Regions from separate parts of the Homo sapiens genome. Here all the other regions are linked to region 4. The links are contacts of gene promoters, found by promoter capture Hi-C in blood cells and fetal thymus (Javierre and others, 2016). All regions are on one chromosome and are shown on one strand. Each heading gives the region's core, a stretch centred on a gene start or on the middle of the fragment in contact. The rest is flanking DNA. Distances are from core to core; before and after follow the strand shown.

What was found. The method cuts DNA at HindIII sites, captures the fragments that hold promoters and counts their contacts. A CHiCAGO score of 5 or more calls a contact.
Region 1: a contact is called between a fragment that was not itself captured here and the fragment with the promoter of TBRG1 in region 4, in 3 of 17 cell types (naive B cells, megakaryocytes and total B cells). The highest score is 6.5, in naive B cells.
Region 2: a contact is called between a fragment that was not itself captured here and the fragment with the promoter of TBRG1 in region 4, in 2 of 17 cell types (total B cells and erythroblasts). The highest score is 6.2, in total B cells.
Region 3: a contact is called between the fragment with the promoter of EI24 here and the fragment with the promoter of TBRG1 in region 4, in 8 of 17 cell types (naive CD4 T cells, total CD8 T cells, activated CD4 T cells and 5 more). The highest score is 9.4, in naive CD4 T cells.
Region 5: a contact is called between a fragment that was not itself captured here and the fragment with the promoter of TBRG1 in region 4, in 1 of 17 cell types (total B cells). The highest score is 5.8, in total B cells.
Region 6: a fragment that was not itself captured here is called in contact with the fragment with the promoter of TBRG1 in region 4 in 5 of 17 cell types (erythroblasts, megakaryocytes, total B cells and 2 more); the score reaches 14.6 in erythroblasts.

The regions. Positions count from the first base shown.
Region 1 is chr11:124,053,317-124,056,016 of GRCh38, reverse strand. It overlaps the pseudogene OR10D5P. Among named protein-coding and RNA genes, the nearest start is that of OR10G7, 13 kb to the right of the region's middle. The HindIII fragment of the contact is 2,119 bases long and covers 286-2,404 here.
Region 2 is chr11:124,088,643-124,091,342 of GRCh38, reverse strand. No RefSeq gene overlaps it. Among named protein-coding and RNA genes, the nearest start is that of VWA5A, 25 kb to the left of the region's middle. The HindIII fragment of the contact is 7,316 bases long and covers 1-2,700 here.
Region 3 is chr11:125,568,071-125,570,770 of GRCh38, reverse strand. It overlaps EI24 (EI24 autophagy associated transmembrane protein), which reads right to left and starts at 1,294. Exons shown (of 11, transcript NM_004879.5): 1 at 1,198-1,294. STT3A-AS1 (STT3A antisense RNA 1) reads left to right here. Exons shown (of 4, transcript NR_132372.1): 3 at 329-481; 4 at 2,653-2,663. RefSeq lists enhancers at 577-626, 1,129-1,630 and a silencer at 1,067-1,626. The HindIII fragment of the contact is 1,677 bases long and covers 610-2,286 here.
Region 4 is chr11:124,621,595-124,624,294 of GRCh38, reverse strand. It overlaps TBRG1 (transforming growth factor beta regulator 1), which reads right to left and starts at 1,431. Exons shown (of 9, transcript NM_032811.3): 1 at 1,062-1,431. The coding sequence starts at 1,211. It overlaps LOC124902779 (a long non-coding RNA gene), which reads left to right and starts at 1,094. Exons shown (of 2, transcript XR_007062932.1): 1 at 1,094-2,700. RefSeq lists an enhancer at 1,285-1,354. The HindIII fragment of the contact is 1,322 bases long and covers 317-1,638 here.
Region 5 is chr11:123,730,949-123,733,648 of GRCh38, reverse strand. It overlaps ZNF202 (zinc finger protein 202), which reads left to right. Exons shown (of 9, transcript NM_003455.4): 4 at 2,664-2,700. Among named protein-coding and RNA genes, the nearest start is that of ZNF202, 9.4 kb to the left of the region's middle. The HindIII fragment of the contact is 600 bases long and covers 1,117-1,716 here.
Region 6 is chr11:124,069,556-124,072,255 of GRCh38, reverse strand. No RefSeq gene overlaps it. Among named protein-coding and RNA genes, the nearest start is that of OR10G7, 30 kb to the right of the region's middle. The HindIII fragment of the contact is 5,328 bases long and covers 1-2,700 here.

The DNA.
Region 1 (2,700 bases), core at 96-2,595, 570 kb after region 4:
ACAGAAGCAGCATTAGCACATGGTTAAGACGCTTTGGGTCACATTTTCGCCCAGCAAGTTTTTAACTCCATGACACTGCAGAAAGATCTCAGCCTCTCAGTGCCTTAATTTTCCCTCGTAAATCGAGATAATAGTATTATCTACTTCATATGATTATTATAATCATTACATGTATCAGTATTTGTAAATAGCGCCTGGTACTCAGTCATCAAACAAAATATAGGAGCTAATTGCCCCCAGATAAATTCAAGACAAAGCTGTAAAGACAGACCAGGATATAAAGCTTACCTTCCACAATTATGTACTCCTTGAATGAGCACCTTTCTCAGTGCCAGCTTTACACCTTTGTTTCTCAAAGTATATATCAAAGGATTCAGGGAAGGGATAACAATATTATTCAACACCTGAACCACAGAGTCCAGCCAAGGGCTGGAGGCAGGTCGGAGATAAATGAGGACTATTGGTCCATAGAAGAGCAGGATGGACGTCAGATGGGCACTGCAGGTTGAGAAGGCTCTGCGCCTACCTTCTGAGGAACTGATTTTCAGTATAGAGATAACAATGCAAGCATAAGAGGTGAGGATAAGAAGAAAACACATGAGCGCAACAACACCTACGTTGATGAAACTCACTGTCCGTGCTAGAGAGGTGTCTGCGCAGGCCAGGGGCAGCACCACCGGAATATCACAGAAAAAAATTGTCCACTTCATTGGGGCCACAGTAGGATAACTTAAAGATGAGGAGTGTGAGGACAGATGCATGCAGACAGCTCCCCGTCCAGGTGCCTAGCGTCAGGAGGGCACACACCCTGCGTTTCATGATGACCGTGTATGGCAAAGGGTGGCAGATGGCTGCAAATCGGTCATAGGCCATCACAGTGTACAGGAAACACTCGGTGCAACCCAGGAAATGGTGAAAGAAGAGCTGGGAGGCACAACCCTGGAAAGAGATGGTGCAGCTTTGTCCCACTAAGCAGAGCATCATTTTGGGGGAACTCACTGAAGGGAAAAATATGTCAAACACAGACAGGTTTCCCAGGAAGAAATACATGGGGGTGTGGAGGTTGGAGAAAGTGAGGACGGCCAGAAGAATGAGTAGGTTCCCCAGCAAGGTGAAGAGGTAGAAGGCCAGAAATAAGACAAAAAGCACATTTTCCATCCCCTTTGTATGAGGGATTCCCATCAGGGGGACCTCAGTTACTGGAGTGTGATTCTTTATCTTCATGTCAAATTAGTCCTGGAACATCAAACAATGGCCTCACTGAGATGAGTTTTTCCTGCAAAAAACTCTTTATAGAGCCTATCGCAAACTGATAATAAGTATATAGAGTGGAGAACTTCTAAATAAGACTCAGTTCAATCCTGTCATTAATTATTGAGTGACATTTGGGTAAGTTATTAATCTATTTTTCATCTGTTTCCTCATAAGTAAAATGAAGAGACAACACTAGAGTTGATATAGAAGAGAAGGTGTAGAATAAACTTTACAACTGGAAGTATCTGAGTTTACATACTAAACACGCTGCCCACTCTGACATCAGATGACCTTGAAAAAAACTCTTTAAATCTTTTCTGAATATATATAAATAGTAAAATAATATATTATGGTTCCTGTGTACATTAATGCATTGATGTCTGCAAAGTACCCATATAATTTTGGCTCCTACCCATCTTTGTTAAAAAATTTATTCATCAAATTATTTAATGTGTGCCTTATTCCACAGCATTTCTCTAAGTTGACTTGTAGCAGTTCTGAGATTACCCATTCATGTGACTGATCCGGGAGGCAGCTTTCTCAATCAGCAGCTAGAGTAACTGAAAACTGAGAATTGTCTAATGGGTGTAAAACAGAAAGGAAGCCTGGGCATGGCGGCTCACACCTGTAATCCCAGCAGCTTGGGAGGCCAAGGTGGCAGGATCACTTGAGCCCAGGGATTTGAGACTAGCCTAGGCAATACAGTGACGCCTTGTCTCTTCAAAAATTTAAAAAAAAAGGAAAAGAAAAAGAAAAAACTAGCTGAGTGTGGTGGTGTATGTCTGTAGTCCCAGCTACTTGGGAGGCTGAGGTGGGGAGATCCTTTAAGCTGAAAAGGCAGAGATTGCAGTGAGCCAAAATCATGCCACTGCACTCCAGCCTGGGTGACAGAGTGAGACCCTGTCCCAAAAATAACTTAAATAAAAATAAAGAAATAAAAGAATAGAAAAGATGATATGTAGGTAGGAAAAAGCAATAGATAATTACTGATATTAAAAACAGCCATTTCTTTTAATAGAGTTTAGTGTCCAATAGCAATTATATCTGTGACTTGACTGCAAATAATCATCATTTTTCCTAGAATTAGCTTTATAATTCCCCATTATCACTTTACATCTTATTCATTTCCTAAAATTTCTAAGGTTAAGCTTCATTAATCAGGTAATAGCTCAATAAAATACCATGGAGTCAACTAAGTCAGATTTAGCCCAAAGTCAAACAGAGCCAATTCCCACGTTCTTCCCACCTTCCTCTAGTGCGTAGAACTCATCAGAAGATGAGAGGGGAGCACTCCAGAGAAAAGGCACTCACAGACTGAAGGGAAATGTGGCTGTCCTGGGCTGAAAACCAGGCCCTACGTCCACCCAGCCCTGTTTCCTTTGCTTTTAGGTGCTGTGGATCATCTGTGGCTCTGGGGCTAGAAAAGCCGAATGTTCCTCTTTTTCA
Region 2 (2,700 bases), core at 174-2,673, 530 kb after region 4:
CTATCCATTACAGCAAGGTTGTTGTAATTTTAAATGTTCTGTTAACCAAGACACATAACAGTCACTCCTGTCTTCAATATCCATGTTTTCTTTCCTGGCCTTCTCTTTTTGGCAGGCAAGTGCTGAAACAGCCATATGTTTCACAACCTCCACTCTTCTGTCTTTTAACATGCACACATACACACATACACACTTCTGTTTTAAGCATGTTGCCACTTGTCACTACAAAGAAACAGATGGCAATACTGAAAAATAATAATCACTTGTAAAGTTACAATGGTTTAGAAAATCTCTTTGAATTTTTCCCTGACAGTTTCCTCTAATGTGTATTAAAATGTCATTCCAGCTCTTCTCTCCCAGTTGCTTCACTTTTCATCCACGGCTCAGGTTTACAGGCTAAGCACCTGGATTCAGAAATTTCTTTAGTTAATGGAAGAACCAAAAGTAGAATCCAGGTCTTCCGATTTTCAGTTCAGTTCTCATTTTACTTCACAAACTTATAATGCCAAGTGAGAAATGTATGGATAACCTTGATGCAACATAAGTTTAATTAATCTTTGCACAAGTCGTAACAGCAATAAATATACTAAATAAAAATAAATATTTTATTGTAAGAATGTATCTGTTGAATCAGAATATTTATTTATTCTAATATAAAACATTGACAGATTTTAAAAATAAAAAATTTAACACAAAAGAAATAATTTCTAGTTTTTCTGTTCTGTTAAAGCATTCCTAGAAGTTTCATCAAATTGACTTTTAAAGATTTAAACAATTTCAGACTTACAGAAAAGTTGAAAAGGTAACATAAAGTCCATGTATATTTGTTACTCACATTCCCAATGTTATCAGCATATTGTATTTGTTTTATCCCTTCTCTCTCTCATTCTCTCTCTAATCCTTCCCCCAATATTGTGTGTGTGTGTGTGTGTGTGTGTGTACACTTTATTCTGAACGAGTTGCAATCATGTGGTCCTTTTCCCCATATCTTACTTAAAGTTTATTTCCTAAAACAAAGGGTGTCCCCTTATATAACTATAATATAGTTATCAAAACCAGGAAATGAATATGGATACAATACTATCATCTAATCTACAGGTATTCTTTAGCTTTTCCCAATTATTCTAATAATGTTTTTATAGCACAAAATGTCCAGGATTATATATTGCATAATGTTATTTATCTTTTTTTAAAAAACTGGAATAGTTCCTGAGTCCTTTGTATTCCAGGACATTATTGTTTTTGAATATTTTAAGATGGGTACTTTGTACAACATACATCAGTTTGAGTTTGTCTAATGTTTTCTCCTGATTAGATTCAGGTAATGTGTTTTTGACAGAACCAACTCCAAAATGATGCTGTGTTCTTTCTAGTATATTATATCAGGAGGTACTTGCTGTGAATTTGTTCCATTACTAGTGAGGTTAATTTTTATCATTTGGTTAAGGTAGTGTCTGTCAGACTACTCAACCATAAAGTGATTATTTTACCTTCCTAATTAATAATGATTTTTTGGAGGGATGGAAACTTTGCAATTATGTACATATCCTATTACTTCTCAATTTTATCTGCCAGTTTTAGCATCCATAGATTATTCTTGTCTGAATTATTATTATAATTGCCAAATAATAACTTTCCAAATTAATTATTCTTACCACATTAGGTCATTGGTTTTCTACTATAAAGAAGATCTTTATCTCTCCCTCTATTTATATCAAATGACACTGTAACTAATTGTGATATCAATCTTTCTGCTCTGTCAGCTGGAATCATGGGATAAGATGATTATACTAGGATATTATCTCTCATCGGAGGAGGAATATCCCTTTTTAAGAAAGGAGATGTAAAAAATATTAAAGGGAGATCCTTCCACTAAACTAGATGACTTTTAAGTTACCTTCCAACTCTGAAATACTAATTCTGTGATTCCATATGGCTGTCTCATAACAGTAGAATCTCTTACATCATTGGAAAAATGGAAGCATAGACAGAGGAAGAAATGGCATATGGGAAGCCTGGGAGGGAGGGGGGTTAGGAACCTTTGTAAATCAGCCAACAGATAAAAACAAGTCCTCTTTCACTTGCTTGGTACCTGCCAGTTGTAAATATTAAATATTAAATACTAGGCAATAACGGCAGTCAAGCAAATAACAGGATTTATTTGTTTTAAGAAGAGACACGATCAGAATATATTATAGAGAGATCACCAACATTTTTCAAGACAGGAGATGCAAGTTCCCTGGACCCAAATCTCACCATTGAACACAGGGCTGTTCATGAGAATATAGGAATGAATAAGTTTACATTAGAGTCTCTGGAAACATCATTCACTCCCCTCAGACTGTATATTAGAATATAAGGCTTGACCATTCCTGTATGTATGTGTTGCCAAATACCTCAGCCAGGAGCAGTTATACCTCATCAATCTCAGCATTATACAAGTACACAATATGATTATAGAGTGCACAGTAAACTCACACCGTGACGAAGTCCTAAACCACTGCTTTCGGTCTCTGCAGTCTACAGCATTTGCTATGAAAACATTTCTGAATTAGGTGCTGCAGAATTAGAAAATGAATCCGTTTCCCAGAGTTCTTGGGAAATCACATCAAGAATTCCAACGTCCATCTCAATCAGGACTTTATTTCAATCTATACCTTTACATCATCCAAAGGTGTTTAAAAATTTCAGTTTCTACAA
Region 3 (2,700 bases), core at 45-2,544, 950 kb before region 4:
AAGGGTACTAAACTTCTTCATAGGTTTCTTGCATCTAATAGGGCACAACAGCATGAAAAAAACTTAAAATTCTATATAAACACAACCCCACCAAAGTGAGCCAGCTTGGAGGTTTAAGGAAGCCCATTACTTGGCCTGGATTTCTCACAGGGAACTGACAGGGAACCTGAAACATTCTGTCTCAGTCCACAACAGCTGTGTCATTTGATCCCTGGCCAGCTAACACCTGGTTTCTGCATGTACCAAGTGGCAGGACACCTCCTAAGAGTGACCTATGAAGGATAAATCACTTCACTTTTATACTTAGATCCTAACATCCTTCCTACAGGAATATTTGGTGAATTACCCAGTCTGACAAATAGCTGAGGCATGGGGAAAAATAACCTGCCACAATTTGAGAACACACACACAGACTGAATGACACAGGGGGAATCCTACAGCTGAGCTAGACAGATGAAGATGCATCTGGCTCATTTAACAGGTGAGAGAACCCAGTCTCAGAAGTTAAATGACTTGCCCAGACTGACAGCAAATGAATGGCAGCTACAGTGAACCTCAGAACCCGGTGTTCTAACGTTACCTCGGTCGAGACTTGTTTTTACTTAAGCTTTGCAATGAAGATTTTTGTTTTAACACGAGCATCCCATGGACAAATAACCTCTCAAACCTGGAAATACAAATGCCATTAAATTCCCAACAGTCATTAGAAGCTAATAAGCATCTGCTGAGACACACTTTTATTTCTAAGTCACTAAACCCAAGTCTCGGCAAACAGGAAGCTGTCGTAGCCCACTCCAGGTACAGGGAAGGTAAACATCCTCACTTCCCACGGGGCTCCACGGGCTGCCTCTGAGTCCACGGGTCCATTCAGGCCCATCTCCCCACAGCTCCTAGGCAATTCGGCAGAAAACTGGTCTCCCTAGGCACAACTGTGCACGAGGTACGGATCACGCGAGGTGCGGATCACGCACGCTCCGGGTCACACAGGGAGCTAAAGATAGCTGCGCCGCACCTGGGGCAGCCTCGCCCGGGGATGTGCCCGGCCCCGTCCCGCTCCCTCCGGCCCCTTCCCATAAGGGGTCCTCGCCGGTAGCCCCACCAACCCACGCTCGGGCCCTGCCTGCCCTCCCGGTCCCTGCCACTCAGAATGGGCGGCGCGGCGGCCCCGAGGCCTAGCTCGGCTGAGCCCGCACCTACCCACAGCTCCGCCGCCGCGGCTCCGGCCCTGCCCCTAGCCCACCGCAGGCCAGCTCCGCCGGGGCGCTTCCAGGGCCGGGGCCGCTGCGCCCGCACTGGGCATGCCCGGGCCGCACGGGGCCGCTGGGAAGTCGGGCGAGCGCGAAGAACCAGCCGGCACCACGAGGCGGGGCCCAGAGCCGAAGGGGTGGGCCGCGCGGAGCGACGGAGACTGGGAAATGTAGTCAGTCCGGGGTCCCGCCTCGCGCTGCGTGCGGGATCGTCCGGCTCCCAACTCCGCCTGGCGGCGGAGAGGACCCCTCACCCCTCCGCGTCGCCTCCTCCCCGTCGCCTCCTCGCCGATCCCGTTCTCACAGATCTCTCCTCCTGTTCTTTGCCCTCCCCCATTGACTCCACAACGCTGCTTGCGTTTCTAAAATCCTGTGAAATTAGTAACAGGATGCCTTTAATCCCAGCATTTTGGGAGGCCAAGGCAGGCAGATCACGAGGTCAGGAGTTCAAGACCAGCCTGGCCAACATAGCGAAACCCCATCTCTACTAAAATAACAAAAATTAGCCAGGTGTGGTGGTACCTGCCTGTGGTCCCAGCTACTCAGGAGGCTGAGGCAGGAGAATTACTTGAACTCAGGGGATGAAGGTTGCAGTGAGCCGAGATCACACCACTGCACTCCTGCCTGGGCGACTGAGCAAGACTCAGTCTCAAAATAATAATAATAATAATAAATTTAAAAAATGAAATAAAATAAGTGGCTGGGCACGGTGGCTCATGCGTGTAACCTCAGCACTTTGGGAAGCTGAGGCGGGCAGATCACTTGAGGCCACCCTGGCCAAGATGGTGAAATCCCGTCTCTACTAAAAATACAAAAAATTAGCTGGGCATGGTGGCACACACCTGTGGTCCCAGCTACTTGGTCGGCTAAGGAATGAGAATCACTTCAATTCAGGAGGCAGAGGTTGCGGTGAGCCGAGATCGCACTACTGCACTTCAGCCTGGGTGACACAGCTAGACTGTCTCGAAAAATAAAATAAAATAAAACAAAACAAAACAATATAAAATAGAATAGAATAAGGAATCCATCTACTAAAGCTTAGAAATCTTGTTACAAAGAGACCTAAGTGGTTTAATGACAAACTGATTATTGTGCTATTAATTATAATAATAGCTCTTCCTCCAAGCTCTATTCTTTCTCAAGAGTGTCAATTTAGAAAAGATTTTAGAAAGAATTTAGTAGGTATGAGTTTATTCTGGCTTACTTCATGGGAGGAAATCTTTTTTTTTTTTTTTTTTTGAGACTGAGTCTGTCTTTGTCTCCCAGGCTGGAGTGCAGTGGTGCGATCTCGGCTCACTGCAAGCTCCGCCCCCTGGGTTCACGCCATTCTCCTGCCTCAGCCTCCTGAGTAGCTGGGACTACAGGCACCTGCCACCAAGCATGGCTAATTTTTTTGTATTTTTAGTAGAGACGGGGTTTCACCGTGTTAGCCAGGATGGTCTCGATCTCCTGA
Region 4 (2,700 bases), core at 182-2,681:
AGGTGGAACTTCAAACTCTCAATGTTCAAAACAACATCGCTTTTTCTTCACAAAATCTTCATTATGTATTTGATGGAACCAATATCCTTGAAATAACATAAATTCCAAGCTTTAGGTACCTTTGACGTATAGGGGATAAAAGAAAGGGAACAGTCAATCAGATGCTAAGTTCTCTTAGTTTTACTTTTCTTGTTTCTCTCCAGTGCAAATAGCAAGCAATACACATAGCAAGTGCTGAATAAGTGCTTTTGGAATGTGTATTCTAATTTCTGAACCTTTCCTTATGCTTCCAAAAATGCTGAGAGACGTTCAAGCTTTTGGTAGAGAGAAGAGATGAACTGTTGACTTGGATGTGGGGGGACATTTGAGGACTCCACCCCTATTTCCAAGCACTGAGGCAAGCCAAACTATTCTAATATAAAGTTATGGCTGGCAAGCTATATTAAGTTTATTCACTCAATAAATCCAGTGCTTCTACAATAAAAGAAAGGAAGAAACACTTGGAACACTCAAAGGTTAGAGGGGGGAAATTACTGACAGTTTCATGTACCTCTTTGGGCAAAGGGTCAGTTATGGGGATTTGAGGTGCTCAGAAAATAGTCTGTGTACTGGAAGTCATAAAACGGAATCAGGTTTATCTAAGTTGGAGTCAGGGCTCTGACACAGTACCCTTGGGCAAATCATCTCTCTGGGCTTCAGTGTTCTCATTTTACAAATAATGCCTAATTCTCAGGGCTGTATCTCGAGAATCAAACACATTTCCTAGAGTCCTGCAGTAACAACGATGACTAAAATTTATTGGTATGTCTTTTACGCACCAAGCACTTTTCTTTACTCATTTAATATTCATTATTCTGCAAGACAGTTACTAGCTCATTTACAGATGAGGACACAGAGAAATTACGTAATTTGTCCAAGGACACAAGGCTAACAAGTAGTAACGTATACGGAAAAGCCAACACTGTATTAATACTGTCACACTGGGAAGGGGGAACAGCTTGGGGAAAGATTTTGTGAGGGAGTCTCCAGGAGGGGACCGGCTGAACGTGGGTCAGACTCACAAACACCGTGGCCTTGGCCGCTTTGCGCAGCCGCAGGTACTTCAGCCGGTACTTCTCATTCTGGCTCTTCTTCGGGAGCTTTTTCATCCTGGCCTTGCTGGACTGCAGCGGAGCCCGCGGCGAGGAAGCGAGGCCGTCCAGCAGGCTCATGGTCCAGCCCCGCTACGGGGGCCCCAGGACGCTGCCGGCATCGGATCCTAAGTCGGGGAGCGGGCGGGAGCGCTGGCTTTGTCTGTTCCGGGCTAGCGGAATCGGGCCTCTAGGAATCTAGCTCTCCGGGACGTTCCCAGGGCTGACCGCAGGGCCAGAGACACCCGCAACCGAACGGGCTCCCGGCGCCTCCCAGCACTTCCGTGTCTGTCTTGGAAGTAAGCCCTTCCCGGAAGTTACGTCCCGGTGTCGGCAGTGTGTAACTTCCGGGGCAGGGAGAGTAGGGTGGTCTGGGCGGTGCGATCGTGGGCACCGGGAGGAAAGAGACAGCTGGGGGCTAGTGCTGGATGAGGAGAGGAGGGAGGGCCGGCGGCCGTGTGCTTAGCTGAAGGGTACTATAGTTGAACCAACGAACTAACAAGAAGCTTACCAATGCGAGCTCTCATTCACGCTCCCCCGCTGGGCCACTGCGTTTTAATACGTTTTTCATGCTTCGTGCAGACAGGCTTTCCCAGACTGTAGGACAAAGTGAGCCCAAGTGCTGGGACTCTGCTTCTTTCCCTGCTTCGTTCCTTTCTGCAGCTCACAGAAATGTGTTTGCAGGGCCTCCTAATGCTATCATCTTCCCAGGAGCTGGGAACACAGTAGTGAACAGGAAGAAAGGCCTTGGCTCTTTCTAGTAGGGAAGATGAGAGATTTAACACGCAGTTTTAATACTAGCACTAAGTAGGCACTCAGTAAATGTTTGTCTAGTGAAACCAGAAGTGTATTTCTGTACATAATATGTACATGTATATGGTTCTAACTTTACAACCAAGGTCTATTTAAAATTAGGGAAGATAGAAAAATCTTTAGGGTGCGGTATTGGTAAGTGACCCAGGCTGGATGGCAGAAGGCTTGCTTGCATCTTCTTCCAGCGATGCCAATAACTAGTTCAGTAACTCTCTAGTTTTTTCTCTCAAAAAAAAAATTTGCTGTTCTGCTGTATTTTGTCCTTGCGGGCTTTGGGGTCTGACTTTATTTGTATTATTTATTTTCATATACATGTATCACATCTAGGGGGAAGAAAAGTGCTATCCTTTGTCCTAGTTTGCAGGCTGTTTTGGCCAATGGACTTTAGTGGGATTTGCATGAAGATATTTTTTGTTTCTTCTTCATTGGACACATTTCCTTACACTTACAAAACATTTCATTCGAACTTTAGAAATTTAGAAAATATAGTACAAGAAAGGTTTAAAAATCCATAATGCTACCACTTGGAATGAACTACTTTTACCATGTTAGTATATGTGTCTAATATTTTATGCATTTTTGTATAGGTTAGACAATACTGAAAATAAAGTTTTCTTTTTGTTCATTTACCATTGTATCATTTCAGTTTCACAAATGTTAGTATAGCTTCCTTATAAGCATAATTTTAAGTGGCTGGTTAATATTCCAGTTATGGCTATATTATATTTTGCATAATTATTTCCATGTTCTTTGACTT
Region 5 (2,700 bases), core at 167-2,666, 890 kb after region 4:
GAGATCCAGGCTGTAGTGAGCTATGATTGTACTACTGCACTCCAGCCTGGGCAACAGAGGGAGAGTCTTAAAAAAGCAAACTGTCCAAGATCATTGAAACCATTAGCACTTAGGAAGAAACAAATGAAATTACATTCAAGGGGCTCACATTTAAATCCAGGGCTCTCAGGACTCCCAAAGTAAAAAGATGGACATAAAATAAAAAAATTACAAGCCACTTGAGAAAAAAATAAATCACCATGAGGTAGAGATAGCAGAGGAAAAATTACACATGAAGATCTAGGAATTAGGGAGCTATCCAAGATAGACTGTGAAAGTATGTTGCAAGTGACTGAGGGTAATGAAAAAAATGTCATAAGAGCATGAATTAGAAGCGTTTTGAGAAAGAATGAAGATAATGTGATCATTGACTGTAAACTCATTTGATGGGCAACAATAGATGAGACACAGCTATTAAGAGTGGATCGATAACCTTGAATGTGGATGTGAGGCAACTGTAGTATAGCACAAAAAGGTTGAGAAATGATGGAGCCCTTAAGCTGCTTGTGGACACTGGTCTGGAGGGGGACAGGACCAAGAAAACCAGTCATGGAGGTTGAACTAAGTCATCTCTCCAATGTATCCGTGCCTGTTACGTGCCAGTGCCGTTTAGGAGCAGAGGATATTGTAATTTTTTTTAAAGTTCCTATGAATACCTTCTAGTGGGTCATAATGGCTCAACCGGGAAATGGCAGTAGAGATGAAGAGATGGATGGATTCGAAAGACATTTTTTGGAAGTTGGAATTAACAGGATATGGTGAATAATCAAGAGATAGTAAAAGCATAATGGAGGAAACAATGGTTCTTCCTGTTACCATAGGAAGAAGCTTTGGAGTAGAGTTTTATTCATTTTAAATGCATTTATTGTGCACTTTATTATAGGTATTGGAGATTGATGGAAAATAGTCTCTGACCTCAAAGAGTTTCACAGGAAAGATGAGCGATGGCTATGTAATATGACCAATACTGGGATAGAGAGGTGCCCAGGTCACTACGGGAGGACTTAGGTGATTTCTAACTATGTCTGAGAGTAGGGGAAATGGGATCAAAGAAAACATCTCAGAAGACATGAAGCTTGAGCTTATGTCTTGAAAAATTTAAAGTTTAACCTAACCAAGGATAAAGAATCAGAAGAAACAGCATATTCAAAAGCTAAAGAACACGGGACTCTTGTGTGCTTTGCATGTACACACGTGTGTGCGTGTGTGTCTGAAAGGATTGGAGAGGAGGGCGAAGAGAATAACAAGATGAACGTCAACCTAATGTAGAATGTTTGAAGTTTGTATTTCACTTAACAAGACAGCGGGGAGTGATGGAAGGATCTTAGATAGGAAAGGGACATGAGCACGTTTGCCAAGAGAGCTCGTTCTGATCATAGTGGGTACGTGAAGGTGACAAATCTGGAGGCAGATAGCTCACATTTGGAGGCAGTTGCAGTCATCCAGATGAGAAGTGAGAGGGACCTAAGCTGTAAATTGTGGGAATAAAGACAAGACCCGTTAAAAAGAAAGAGAACACACCATGTAGCGTGGAAAGGAGAAGGGTGGAGAGTAGCCTGTGCAGAAGGAACAACCTTCAAAAAGACATGGAAGACTGAAAAGACACCCTGTTGTAGGGAGATCAGCAATGCATTTTTTATAACCAGGTGATACAGGGAAAAGGTAGGATCTGAAGCTTGAAAAATAGATTGGGGGCTGATTGTAAAGAGCTTCGTGTCATTCCCAGGATTTTGGAACTGATTTTACTAACATGAAAAAGGTTTTGTTTTAAAATACTGAGTAATATAGTTGGAACTATAATTTAGAAAGATAATAGCTGGTGCCATCACTCTTCTAAGCAAAGATAGTAATACATTTAATGCTCATAGGCTTTAGTAATACATTTAATCCTTACAGTAAGCCTATTAGATAAAAACCATTATTATCTCCCTTCTATAGACAGAGAAACTGGCATTAGGAGAATGAGAACTTGCCTATGGTCCCACTCTGGAAATACCTAGTAAGCGACAGAGCCAGGATTCAAACCCAGGCAGCTTGACTCCAGAACTTTCGCTCATAACCTTACACATCTCCCTCATGGTTGGTGTTTCTCAACCATGGATACACATTCGAACTGCAAGTAGCATCTCTAAACATACAGTTACCTGAATTGACTGAATCAGAGTGTCTGAAAAATGATGTGTGATACTATGTTTTGCAAAATCTCCACAGGTAATTCTGTTGTACTTTGCTTATAGTTGAGTACTGCAGGGATCTTAGGAAGTTAGAGCAGTAGTCCAGGCAGGAGATGATGAAGGCTCAAACTAAAGCAGTCTGTAGGAAGGAAGAGAAGGGAACCGGTTTGGAGACTTAAGCGGGGGAATTGGCAGTATTTGTGAAGTGGAAATGCAGTATTTTCTTGCAGAGTATGAACCTTGCCTAGGAAAGGGAGTAGAGGACCATACCTTTAGTTGTAAATTATCCTCTCCCAACTGGATCTGTTGATTTATGGCTATGGTGGTTGGGGAAAAGAGGATTTAACCATTTGAAGAAGTTTGTGTAGAGGATTATGATTGAACTCAGGCTGTTGTCCTTGTGTATAGTTTCATGCTTATACTCTTGTTTGTCTTTACTTCTCTATCCAGGGCCCTTGGAAGAAAATCCTCGCTGTGTCCAGGCTGA
Region 6 (2,700 bases), core at 3-2,502, 550 kb after region 4:
AAAAGGACAAGCACTTCTCTCTTTCCTTCTCCATCACAAACAAACCTTTCCGTCAGATTTAGTGTAAGTTTTATCAAACTGTATGTCACAGAATAGTCAGAATATCCTGTAGCTGGGAAATTCCTTTTATTCTGTTTTCTTTTGTTGAAAGCAAAACTCGTATCACGTTATTAATGCACAATTTCCTGGGTTAAAATTAACTTTGGGGACTCCCTGCCAAAGGAATTCAAGCCCCGCTCTATGGAAGGAAAAAAAAAGAAGTCAAATTCCCTTCTCTGCTAGCTCAGAAGAGGAATGATGAAGGTACGTGCTGAAGCCGATCTGTCGGCCACGTGCTTTTAGCACCAAGTGGTTCTTGTGCAGTCTGTAAACACAGGCAGGGTCCTGTGACCTTTGCCAGCTGTATTTCCATCAAGACTTTCTCCATTCTTACCTGAAACACCTTGTGAACCCAATGGCTGTTTACACACAAAGAGTCGTGGGTCTACTGACACCAATTGGTAAAAATGGTAGCAATTGACTGGTTATTTAACTGGCTCTCTAGAAAGACTATAGCACATGGTGGTGCCATCAGAAATCATAAGCATCACAGACCTCTCTAACACAGTTCTAATAATAATTTCAACCATTCTTTATCCTATTGATTCAGCTCCAGGGTCTTTATTGCAAGCTACTTGTTAGTGAAGAGGAATCTGGTTGTCGGTGCCCCAATAGTGCCATCTGCCGGCCGATGTTAGGTATTTCACCTTAATTCGGAGTCCTGTTTCAAGAGCGGGATTTCAAAATCAAGAGTACTACTGGAAATGGAAATATCATTGCCCTACCAAAATCAGAAATTAGAAGACCTCTAGACACTTTTTTTCCCCAAAGTCATGAACATCTTCCTGTAAATGAAAATTCCTGTAATGGTACACAATTTGTAGATGTGAAAGAATCCTCTAAAATGATCTAGTTCAACCTCTTCATTTTACAAATATTAGAACTAAAGCCATAGAGACAAAATAATTTATTCAGGACCACACAGGCTATTATTAGTGGAACCACTGTTAGAACCCCGGTATTTTGCTGATTCACACATAAGTGCTTTTTAACATGCTATAAGCAGGAAAGATATTTATAGTCTTTCCCACTTCCTCATCTGAGGCCACTATGAAAGAACACTACTATTACTATTACTTTCCTACGCCTCCACCATGAGAACAGTCACACACACACACGCACACACACACACACACACACTCTCATAGTCACAAAAGGATATTCTACTTATAATCAGAAATCCTCTTGAAACAAGAATTAACATTCAAAATGTGAAAACCTACAAAAATAAAATTATTAAAAATAATTACAGCCTTTTTTTAAACTTTATTCTGACAAGAGCATTCTAAAACCTTCAGCAAATAGATATGTCAGCAAGTAAACAGTTTTAAAAATGGAACTAGGCCAGGTGTGGTGGCTCACACCTGTGATCCAAGCACGTTGGGAGGCCAAGGCAGGAGGATCACTCAAGCCCAGGAGTTTGAGACCAGCCTGGGCAACATGGTAAAACCTTGTCTCTACAGAAAATATAAAACTTAGCTGGGCATGGTGTCACATGCCTGTAGTTTCAGCTACTTGAAGGCTGAGGTGAGAGGATCGATTGAGCCCAGAAGGTTGAGGCTGCAGTGAACTAGGATTGTATCTCTGCATTCTAGCCCGAGAGACAGAGCAAGAACCTCAAAAAAGTAACTAAACTTTATTTTTGTATAATTAAACAAATTTGGTTAGGGCTCCATTTTATTCCATAACATGAAGTAGGGTGTGTGAATATGATAGCTGTGACACAAACTATGCTGGCGGTGTAAGATTTCTGCTCTACGGAAGGTAGCTAAATAGACATGAGGGACCAAGCAGAGTGGGTTCTCCACTGGGAGAAAATGTGAACTGGCTAACATGTAATGACCTTTTCACTATAATTTCATAATTCAATTTTTCTGCACAGTACTGATATGGGAGGGGGCAAGGAAGGGCTGGGAGGAGAACGGCGGGTCCCTGGGGAGGGCTCCACCCCTGGACCTGTGCCCATGGAACTAGGGGAGAACAGGCACTCCTGCTTTCAGGTCCAAATGTTGCATTTCCCAAGACCACCCTGGCCCACCATGTCCCCATCCTGTGCCTATAAAAACCCTGAGACCCTAGTGCGCACGGACACAGCAGCTGGACATCGTGAGAAACACATCAGCAGGAGAACACAGAAGCGGCTAGACATCAAGAGGAACACTTCGGTTGAAGAGCACACCGAACGGCACCAGCAGACGCCGGCAGGCCATTGACCAGTGGAATGAAGCGGAGTTTAGCTGGAGCTGTCAGAGGAGAGTCACGCCGCTGAGCTGACTCCATGGGAAAACCACCTTCCCGCTCCCCTTCTGGCTCCCCATCCGTCTGCTGAGAGCTATTTCCACCATTCAATAAAATTTGGCACTCATTCTCCAAGCCCATATGTGATCTGATTCTTCTAGTACACCAAGGCAAGAACCCCGGGATACAGAGAGTCCTCCACCCTTGCTATAAGGCAGAGGGTCTAATTAAGCTGATTAACACAAGCTGCCAACGGACGGCTAAACTGAAAGAGCGCACTGTAACACACGCCCACTGGAGCTTCAGCTGTAAACATCCACCCTTAGACGCTGCCATGAGGTCGGAGCCCCACAGCCTGCCGGT